2 separate regions of the Homo sapiens genome follow, and region 1 is linked to region 2. The links are contacts of gene promoters, found by promoter capture Hi-C in human tissues and cell types (Jung and others, 2019). All regions are on one chromosome and are shown on one strand. The core of a region is centred on a gene start or on the middle of the fragment in contact, and the rest is flanking DNA. Distances in the headings are between cores, read along the strand shown. Region 1 has its middle 23 kb from the start of BSDC1. Region 2 holds the start of ZBTB8B (zinc finger and BTB domain containing 8B).

The links. The method cuts DNA at HindIII sites, captures the fragments that hold promoters and counts their contacts. A contact is called where the count stands out against the background at its distance.
Region 1: a contact is called between a fragment that was not itself captured here and the fragment with the promoter of ZBTB8B in region 2, in 2 of the 25 tissues and cell types used here (H1 embryonic stem cells and mesenchymal stem cells).

Annotation. Positions count from the first base shown.
Region 1 is chr1:32,415,238-32,419,951 of GRCh38, forward strand. No RefSeq gene overlaps it. Among named protein-coding and RNA genes, the nearest start is that of BSDC1, 23 kb to the left of the region's middle. The HindIII fragment of the contact is 4,517 bases long and covers 360-4,714 here.
Region 2 is chr1:32,463,094-32,468,367 of GRCh38, forward strand. It overlaps ZBTB8B (zinc finger and BTB domain containing 8B), which reads left to right and starts at 1,979. Exons shown (of 4, transcript NM_001145720.2): 1 at 1,979-2,012. The HindIII fragment of the contact is 24,686 bases long and covers 1-5,274 here.

The sequences.
Region 1 (4,714 bases), core at 1,368-3,867, 47 kb before region 2:
GACCTCTCATGGAGGGGTGTTATGCTTCTCCTAAGCCAAACCCTAACCACAGCTGAGAGCCAGCCAGCTCTGTAGGCAGCAGAGAAATTTGGAGATGAGGAATATGTCTCCCATAGTAGGCCTAAAAGGAAAAGAGAAAATACGAAAGGCAAAAAAAAAAAAAACGGGAAACACCATTCCCAATAGGAAGAGAGGAAATACCTCTTGACAACCCTAACTGGAACACCCAGACTTTTCTACAGTGTTTTTCCTTCTTTCACAGTTTATTTATTTTTATTATTTGTTATTTATTTTTTTTGAGATTGAGTTTCACTCTTGTTGCCCAGGCTGGAGTGAAGTGGCGTGATCTCAGCTCACTGCAACCTCTGCCTCCTGGGTTCAAGCGATTCTTCTGTCTCAACCTCCTGAGTGGCTAGGATTACAGGCATGCACCACCACGTCCAGCTGATATTTTGTATTTTTAGTAGAGATGGGGTTTCACCATGTTGGCCAGGCTGGTCTCAAACTCCTGACCTCAGGTGATCTGCCCACCTCGACCCGCCAAAGTACTGGGATTACAGGCATGAGCCACTGTACCTGGCCTACTTTCACAGTTTAAAATGGCTCTTTCATAATGTTCTTCCAAACTGGGAAAAGTTAGTTTCTCCAAACCTTAAAATGCTTGGCTTAGAGTTGAGCTAGGGGAAGGGAACCCAGAAGCCTGACACGCTGGCAAAAGGGTAGAAGTTTTTTCTAACAGTCAAGCTTTTGGCTTTTCTCTCCCTATGCAAACCAGCGAAAGGGATAATAAGGTTCATTGTTTATATTCTCTGTAAAGTTTTAATTAATCAAAAAAAATCGTGAGGTTGGTCTTAAGCTGTAGCCATTCTGATGTGCTTTGTGTGTCTTTCCATATGGTTCTGTTAAGAGAAAGGGTACCTTAGGTTCGGATACAGACCGTGGACCTCATAAGCCTGCTGTTCAAGGCAGCCCAACAGAATGGTCAGTAATAAACTTGGCTACAGGTCTCTATCTTGTTTCATGTCCTTGGGATCATGACCCATAACCACATGGCAGTACTTTGTTTTAGTTGCCACCATTTTACATGATGGCTGTCTTCTTATGCTAAATCAGTTCCTGAGTGAGGGCCACAAAATCAGATAAGCCAGTTTGTCAACCTGGATGGTGCCAGCTGATCCATCCAGGGGAGGGTTTAAAAATGTCTTCAGCACTGATCTTTTTTTTTTTTTTTTTTAAGGTGGAGTCTCGCTCTGTCACCCAGGCTGGAGTGCAGTGGCGCCATCTCGGCTCACTGCAAGCTCTACCTCCCGGGTTCACGCCATTCTCCTACCTCAGCCTCCTGAGTAGCTGGGACTACAGGCGCCTGCCACCACGCCCGGTTAATTTTTTTTTTTGTTTGTATTTTTAGTAGAGATGGGGTTTCACCATGTTAGCCAGGATGGTCTTGATCTCCTGACCTCATGATCTGCCCGCCTCAGCCTCCCAAAGTGCCAGGATTACAGGTGTGAGCCACCGCACCCAGCCAGCACCGATCTTGAGAGCAGTTTAGGGAGAGTCAAAATCTTGTAGGCTCCAGCTGTGTGACTTCTAGGCCATGGTTTTTAATCTTGTGGCTAGTTTCCTGGTCTGGTACCCAGGCAAGAAGGAAGTAAATCTTAAGAAGGGGCTGTCATCATCTTTATTTTAGACTATAAACTCTAAACCAGGCTCCTCCCAAAGTTGGTTTGGTCTACGCCCAGGGATAAGCAAGGAAAGCTTGGGGGCTGGAAACAAAATGGAGTTGGTTGGGTTGGATCTCTTTCACTATCGTGGTCACAATTTTGAAATGACAGTTTCAAAAACCGCCTATCACCCCTTTAAAAATACCTTGTACACATGCACTCATGGTTAAGTCATAACCTAATTAAGGCTTGTCGATTTCACCTGTGAGGTTACTTTTTGTAAATTTCAAAAGCCAAAAATCTTAACTGCTTGAGGTGGCTAATGTCAAGTTACAAGGGATTTAAAAGGATTTTGTTAAAGAGTACTCAGGTTAATTAAAAGTGGATATTCAAGTTATAGGTATATTTTAATGGCCTTTATGTTTTTCTCTTTTTGGATCTTGTTTTTCTGGAAAAAGGTTTTTTCCTTCTCAGTTGACTGAATTATTAGTCTACATTTTTTATCTTGCCACTCGTAATGCACAATGAGAGGCTCTAAGATAACTTCTGGTAGCATGGGATTCCTTGGGAAAACCAGAGGAGGCACCACAGACCCTGTTTTGGGAGAAAAACCTCGTTTTCCCCATGAAACCCCAGGAACTAGAAGCAGATATTTCTCTCTCAAAATCAAAGGCTTTATTTTTGCATTATGTTTTGCATTATGTTATCTGACAGTTTTGAATTTTGGGAGTATCAAATTACATTAGGAGAGAGGTTTGGTGTGTAATAACTAGGTAGCAAATACACTTTAAGGGATGGCTAATAGTAGTTATAAATCAGAGAAGCATGCTCTTGGTCACCTGAAAGATACAGAAACATTCCCCCTATCCCCACAACGAGAGATGAGACTCCCATGGGAGATGGGCTAATTACAAAATAAGTTGATTGGCTTTGGGTTGCTTTGCAATGAAATGCACAGTAGAAGCACTGCACTGTCTTCTCCCATAGTATCTCTCCTATTTGGGGGATCCAATATCAAATGACACCCTTAATTTTGAGGATCTGTCTTTGCCTTCAGCCGTGCCTGCTTATTATGCCCTAGAAATGCATGCCTTCCTGGCCCTGTTCCTCCAAGGGCTCCACCCTGAAACCAATAATTTAATTAAGAAACCGGCAAATAAAAAATCTAACAAGTGCTGAATCTTGTGTCTGTGTCGCTATATATGTTTTGTGTGTAATGTCTATAAAAAGAGCTCTAATTGATTGGCTGAAAGAAAAATAAGGGCTTAAATCAAATATTTTTTAGTTCACGTGACTTTAGTCTTTAAGAAATTAGTCATAAGGATTATTGGTAAAATGCAAATAGGTGGTCTAATACATACAACTTAGATACTAGGTTTGCTAAATGTTCCAAGGTTGTATACTGCCTGCTTTGCAGATGGGTAAGGCCTGGGACATGTGGAGTTAGATGCTGGAAAGAGTCAGACCTTATCTGCACTTCTGTCTGGGTCCTAGGCTCCACACTTGGTACATAATTAAAATTGCTTACTTACCAGGTTTTTCACCAAAAGTAAAAGTTGCTAAGAGTTAACAGTGCAGCATGTATTTGAGATCACTAAACAGTTTTACATGCAAGGTGTATAAAAACAGTAAAATGTGTTTTTTAGTAAAGATTATAAGAAAGCATGGAAATGTAAATTTTGCCCTGGTATGAGGGATTATGTTAAATTTGATAAGAGAGCTAGAGGTTTAAGCAAGTTATAGAAAGATTGTAAAAAGTAATCTTGCAAAAAATGTATAAAAATTAACTGAATTCAAAAGGATATTATATGGTTTTTTCATAAATTGAACATTGAAATAAAAGCACAGCAAGGTTGTCTTAAGACACTAATCTGCCCTTTAGCAAAAGGGGTTATAAAGGGTTTGTAAAGATTTCACCTTGTGGTCAAATTGACCACCTCATGGTCAATAGATAGAATTGTCTATAAGGTTTCATTTAAACACATTGGGGTTAACATTAACAAACTAATGCAAGGTTAAAATTTGTCTTTAAGCAGAATTTTTATGTAATAGTAAAGGCTAATGAATGGTTTTTGCCTTCTGAGTCATCATTTTGGCAAAATAAATAATTTATGGCATTCTAGAATTCTATTTCATAACATCAAGTGTTTTAAACCTCTAACATTTAACAGGCATCCCAAAATCAAACTTCAAGTTTCAAAATTGTCTTTCCTGATGCCTGGCTTTCTGGATGGTTCACAGTTCCCCTGAATAATCCAGAGAAGAGGTAAACAGGATTATTTGACATGTTTAGTCACATGAGATTGCCAAAATGATGTCTAAGCTTCTTTTTTTTTTTTTCTTTTTTTGAGATGGTGTCTCACTCTGTCACCCAGGCTGGAGTGCAGTGGTGCAATCTCTGCTCACTGCAAGCTCTGCCTCCCGGGTTCACACCATTCTGCTGCCTCAGCCTCCCGAGTAGCTGGGACTACAGGTGCCCGCCACCATACCTGGCTAATTTTTTGTATTTTTAGTAGAGACAGGGTTTCACCGTGTTAGCCAGGATGGTCTCGATCTCCTGACCTCGTGATCTACCCACCTTGGCCTCCCAAAGTGCTGGGATTACAGGCATGAGCCCCTGCGCCTGGCGGTTTTTTTTTTTTTTTTTTTTTTGAGATGGAGTTTTGCTTTTGTTGCCCAGGCTGGAGTGCAACGGCACGATCTCAGCTCACTGCAACCTCCGCCTCCCGGGTTCAAGCCTTTCTCCTACCCTCAGCCTCCCGAGTAGCTGAGATTACAGGCATGTGCCACTGCACCTGGCTAATTTTTTGTATTTTTAATAGAGACGAGGTTTCTCCACGTTGGTCAGGCTGGTCTCGAACTCCCAACCTCAGGTTATCTGCCCACCTTGGCCTCCCAAAGTGCTGGGGTTACAGGCCTGAGCCACCATGCCCAGCCAATGTCCAATCTTCTTTAAGTTATATTTTGGTGAATTATACTAATACATGTTCCAAAATCATATGAGATTTCTAAAATTCTAATGTATGAGTATATGCTATCAATCGTAATTAAGG
Region 2 (5,274 bases), core at 729-3,228:
AAATCTTTCTTCTTCTTCTTCTTCTCCTCCTCCTCCTTCTCCTTCCTCTCCTTCCTCTTCCTCTTCTTCTTCTTCCCTCTTCCCTCTCTCCTCCTCCTCGTCCTCCTCCTCCTTGAAACAGTGCAGTGGCACAATCTCAGCTCACTGCAACCTCCACTTTCCATGTTCAAGTGATTCTCATGCCTCAGCCTCCCGAGTAGCTGGGATTACAGGTATGTGTCACCATGCCCAGCTAATTTTTGTATTTTTAGTAGACACTGGGTTTTGCCATGTTGGCCAGGCTGGTCTCAAGTGATCCGCCCGCCTCAGCCTCCCAAAGTGCTGGGATTACAGGTGTAAGCCACCGCACCTGGCTCTTTTTTTGTTTTGTTTTGTTAAGTATAAAACCTCACCTGGAAGCACCAGCCCTTTCTGAGTGTGCGGGCCTGTGCCACTGCGTGGGTTGCACGTCCATTAAGCTGGTCTACCTGCCATCCACTTCCTCAACCCAATGGCATTCTCCTGTTTCTTAGATATGTACCAACCGGTTTTCTGTTTTATCTTAGCATGGCTCACTACTCCTCATTAGGGTCTCTCAGCGAAGGGGGTAGCCTTTTTTTTTTTTTTTTTTTTTTTTGAGACAGAGTCTTGCTCTGCTGCCCAGGCTGGAGTGCAGTGGCCAGATCTCCACTCACTGCAATCTCTTTGGTTCAAGCATTCTCCTGCCTCAGCCTCCCAAGTAGCTGGGATTACTGGCCCACGCCCGGCTAATTTTTGTATTTTTAGTAGAGATGGGGTTTCACCATGTTGGCCAGGCTGGTCTCGGACTCCTGACCTCAGGTGATCCACCCGCCACCACTCCAGCCTGGGCAACAGAGTCTGAGACTCCGTCTCAAAAAAAAAAAAAAAAAAAAAAAAAAAGTCATACTGGCATAGAGTGAACCCCTAATCCAATATGACTGGTATCCTTATAAAAATACTTTTTTTTTGGAGACGGAGTCTCTCTCTGTCGCCCCAGGCTGGAGTGCAGTGGCGCGATCTCGACTCACTGCAACCAAAAGGAGACATTTTGACATGGAGACATATACAGGGAATATGCCCTGTGAACATGAAGATGGCCATATGCAAGCCCAGGAGAGAAGCCTGGAAGAGACCGTTTCCTCACAGCGCTCAGAAGGAAAGAACCCTGCCAACATCTTGCTTTCAGATGCCCCCAGGATTGTCAGACAATAAGATCTGTTATTGACGCCACCGGGTTGGTGATACTTAGGTACAGCAGCCCTAGCAAACGAATACACCCCCATGAGAACTAAGCTCCCTGAGAGCGGTAAGCTGCCTTGTCTTGCTCACAGCTGACAAGAACACGCCTGTACGGTCACTTAGCACCTAGTACTGCCATTTAACCGTTTCACTAGTATGTATGAACCGGAGAGCCTGTCAAGGGAAGAGCTGAATCTTTTATCTTTTGTAACGACTACCCAGTGAAAGAAACCGCGGGTATGCAATAAAAACCTGTTGAATCGATTAAACCATTTCCCTTATTTCCAGATTTTTGCGGAAAGCGCCAGTAGGTGAAATATGTGCGGACTGATGAGTCAAAGCTCTTATTCCCTGGACTGCATTAATACCCACGACGTGCTTTTCGCTCTCCAGACAAAGAGACCGGTACTTGGCAGGTCCCTCAAGTGGGACTCAAAAGACCGAACCGAGCTGCAGCCTTTCGCTAGCACTGGTCCTCGCCCCTTTTGGCATCTTGGTACTTGTAGTTTTGTCCACTCTATCTTTACCCGAAAAGCCAGCGCTGAGACCACAACTCCCATCACCCTGCGAGCACCAGCGCCTTCAGAGCGCATCCTCCGAGGGGCACCAGCGCCATTGACCACCCTGCTGGCCGAAGGGCCCGCCTTCCCGAGGCCAGGCGCTCCCGCGATTGGCCAGCCGCCCCGCCTCTCATCGGAGGGCGCCAGGTGAATGAAAGGGGGGCGTGTCGGTGCGCGGTGCTCCGTGGCTGCGCTGCTGGAACCCGCTGGAAGGTGAGCGCGAAGAAGCGGGTTGGCGCTGCCGCTTTCGTTGGTTTGGGGAGGATTCCTAGCACCCGGGAGGCTGGCTGGAGATTGGGGTTAGCGGGCAGGGTTGCCCCCACTCAGTCATCCTCCTTCGGACCGCTTGGCCCTGGCAACTCCTGGGACCTCCGCCCCGCGAGCCCTTCTAGCGTGGGGAGGGGCAGGCGCGGCCGTGGGGCCCCAGCTTCCCTGTCATTGGGTGTCCTCCGCGTCGTCCAGCCGGGGGTCGCGGCGCCGACTACTTCCACGGTGAATGGTGCCCAGGCGTGGGGGGCTCGGCCACACTGGAGAAGTGCCAGCGGCAGCGATGGCCACTTTGTCCGCGGGAGGCCATGGGAGGGGCTAGGCCTTGGGGTCCCACCCTCGGGGGCCGTGCCCTGTAGCTGGTTCTGGTGGCCTCTCTGCAGGTCGTCTGATGCTGGACGGGGGAGGGTCTGTCTTGCGAGCAGTTTAGATGCAGTTGACCCTGAAATTCTTCGTATGGAAATGGAAACTTCTCCAGTGTCCTTCTCCTCCGATCCATGCCTAAAAGAAAGGAGTGACTTCCCCAACCTGTCGCATCGTGTCCTGGAGGGTTTGAGGAGGCCGGTTAGCATAGTGGTTAAGGATGTCAACCCGGGAGTCAGTCGGATCTCTGTTCTATTACTAACTTGGTGATGTTATCTGCATCTTTGAATCTCAGTTCCTCCTCTGAAAAAGAGGATGTAGTTAGAGTATCTGTCGTACTGGATTATTGTGAGGTGAAAACTAATGTGCTTGTAAAAGCCAGGCATGGTGGCGCGCACCTGTAGTCCCTGCTACTCGGGAAGCTAAGGTTGGGAGGATCTCTTGAGCCCAGGAGTTCCAGGCTGCATTGAGGTAGGATCGTGCACTCCAACCTGGGCAACCGAGCAAGACCGTGCCTTTTAAAAATTTTAATTTAAAAAGTAAAATGAATATGCTTGTACTTTGTACAGTGTTTTATAAGGAATAGTGCTTAATATTTACTAAAATTGAGGAGCAGGTTTTTGTTATTCTCAGGTTGGTGGGACTGGAGGAGTCTTGTCAGAAAGGGTCGGAGGTGGAATTCAAGGCTGCTTTTGGCCTCTGAACAGAGACAGTTGTGTGATCTGGCTAGGACTCCCTCAAGGGTATATGAGAGTTTGTATTGCAGGTAGTTGTGTTGGCATCTGCTGTCTCCTGGAGGACAGGCACTATACTTGGTTCATTTTTCTATTCCTGGCATCTTCCTTGTGTCAGGCATTGTATGTAGCCGGTAACCGTTGAATTGAGTTGGAACCGTGGGATGGTTGGGAGGTTCCCTGCCAGAGTGCGGATAAATGTGCTTCTGAGAGCAGTCTGCCCTAAGAGCTGCTCTTCTGGGATAAGTGGTGATCCTCAGCACTTCCCGGGGCAGCAGAGCACTTCAGGCAAATGGGGGTGATATAAATAAATATTTACACAATATATACCAAGTACAGGATTGGGGAAAATTTTGAAGAAAATACTATACGGATAGACTTTTGCAACGTCAGGAAGTAGAATAAAAATAATTGCAATAGAATAAAAAATAATTTCAGTAAGAAAGCCAAAAGAAATTGGTTTTAGGTGCTATTTCTGGAAAGGAGGCTTTTCCAGTGAAAGACGGAAGTGCCCTGGGAAGAGCCCCTATAGATCAGACCATACTACAAGTTAAGAAGTGTTGTGCGTACTTACATATTTATCTACCTGGCTTACCAACTCCTTACCCCTCTGCCCTGCCTCCTTTTTTTCTTAGTTAACAAAGAAAAAAGCCAAGGCAGAAGGATCACTTGAGTCCAGGAGTTCAAGACCATTGAGACCAGCCAGGGCAACATAGTGAGACCCCATCTCTACAAAAAAATGTTTTCAGAATTAGCTGAGTGTGGTGCTGCATGCCTGTAGTCACAGCTACTTGGGAGGCTGAGGTAGGAGGATTGCTTGAGCCTGGGAGGTCGAGGCGGCAGTGAACTGTGATCATGGACTGCACTCCAGCCTGGGTAACAAAGTAAGACCCCGTCTCAAAAGAAAAGAAAAGCAATACATGCACATAGTAAAACATTCTATCAGAAAGGTTTAAAATGAAAGGCGAAAGTCCCTCCACACACTTGTTTTTTTTTTTTTTTTTGAGATGGAGTCTCGCACTATCGCCCAGGCTGGAGTGCAGTGGCACAATCTCTGCTCACTGCAGCCTCCGCCTCCACCGCCTCCTGGGTTCAAGTGATTCTCCTGCCTCAGCCTCCCGAGTAGCTGGGATTACAGGTGCCCGCCACCATGCCCAGCTAATTTTTTTGTATTTTTAGTAGAGACGGGGTTTCACTACGTTGGCCAGGCTGGTCTCGAACTCCTGACCCCAGGTGATCTACCCACCTTGGCCTCCCAAAGTGCTGGGATTACAAGTGTGAGCCACCACACCCGGCCCCAAGTGGATTTTAAACTTGGTTTATAGTTTATCTACTAAGCAGTTAAGAAATGAATATTCCTTTTTTGCTTAACAAATCTATTTTGTCCAAAGCACTCTGCCAGATACTGTAAGGGATATAAAATTGAATAAGACATGGCTCATGCTTTCAAAGGGCTTGTAGTTCATTGACAGAGAAGGGCCAGGACATAAATAATAAACAGGAGTTAACCAAGGGTAGTGGAATCAGTCAGTTAGGAGTCTCCCAGTTGCATGAAATAGAAAACCCAACTCAGAGGCCAGGTGTGGTGTCTCACACCTGTAACCCCAGCACTTTAGGAGGCTGAGGGGGGCAGATCACTTGAGGCCAGGAGTTCGAGACCAGCCTGGGCAACATGGCAAAACCCTGTCTCTACCAAAAGTACAAAAAAAATTAGCCTGGCGTGGGGGTGGGTACCTGTAGTCCCAGCTACTCGGGAGGCTGAGGTAGGATGATTACTTTAGCCAGGGAGGCGGAGGTCAGAGTGGGCCGAGATCACACCACTGCACTGCAGCCTGGGTGACAGAGTGAGACCCCATCCCCCATCTCAAAAAATAATAATAATAATATTTAAAAAAGAAAACCCAACTCAGACCAGCTAAACCAAAAAGGAACTTAATTGGCTTCTGGCACTGCTTGAGTTGGGGCTCCAATGTTGTCCCCAGGCTCCATCAGCCTGAGCTGGGCTGTCATCTTTGTTAGGCTGACTTCCCTGGTGGTATGGCAGCAACATCCCTCACATCCTGCATCCCACAGAGCAAAGAGTGCTCTTTTTTGAAATTCCAGCAAATGTT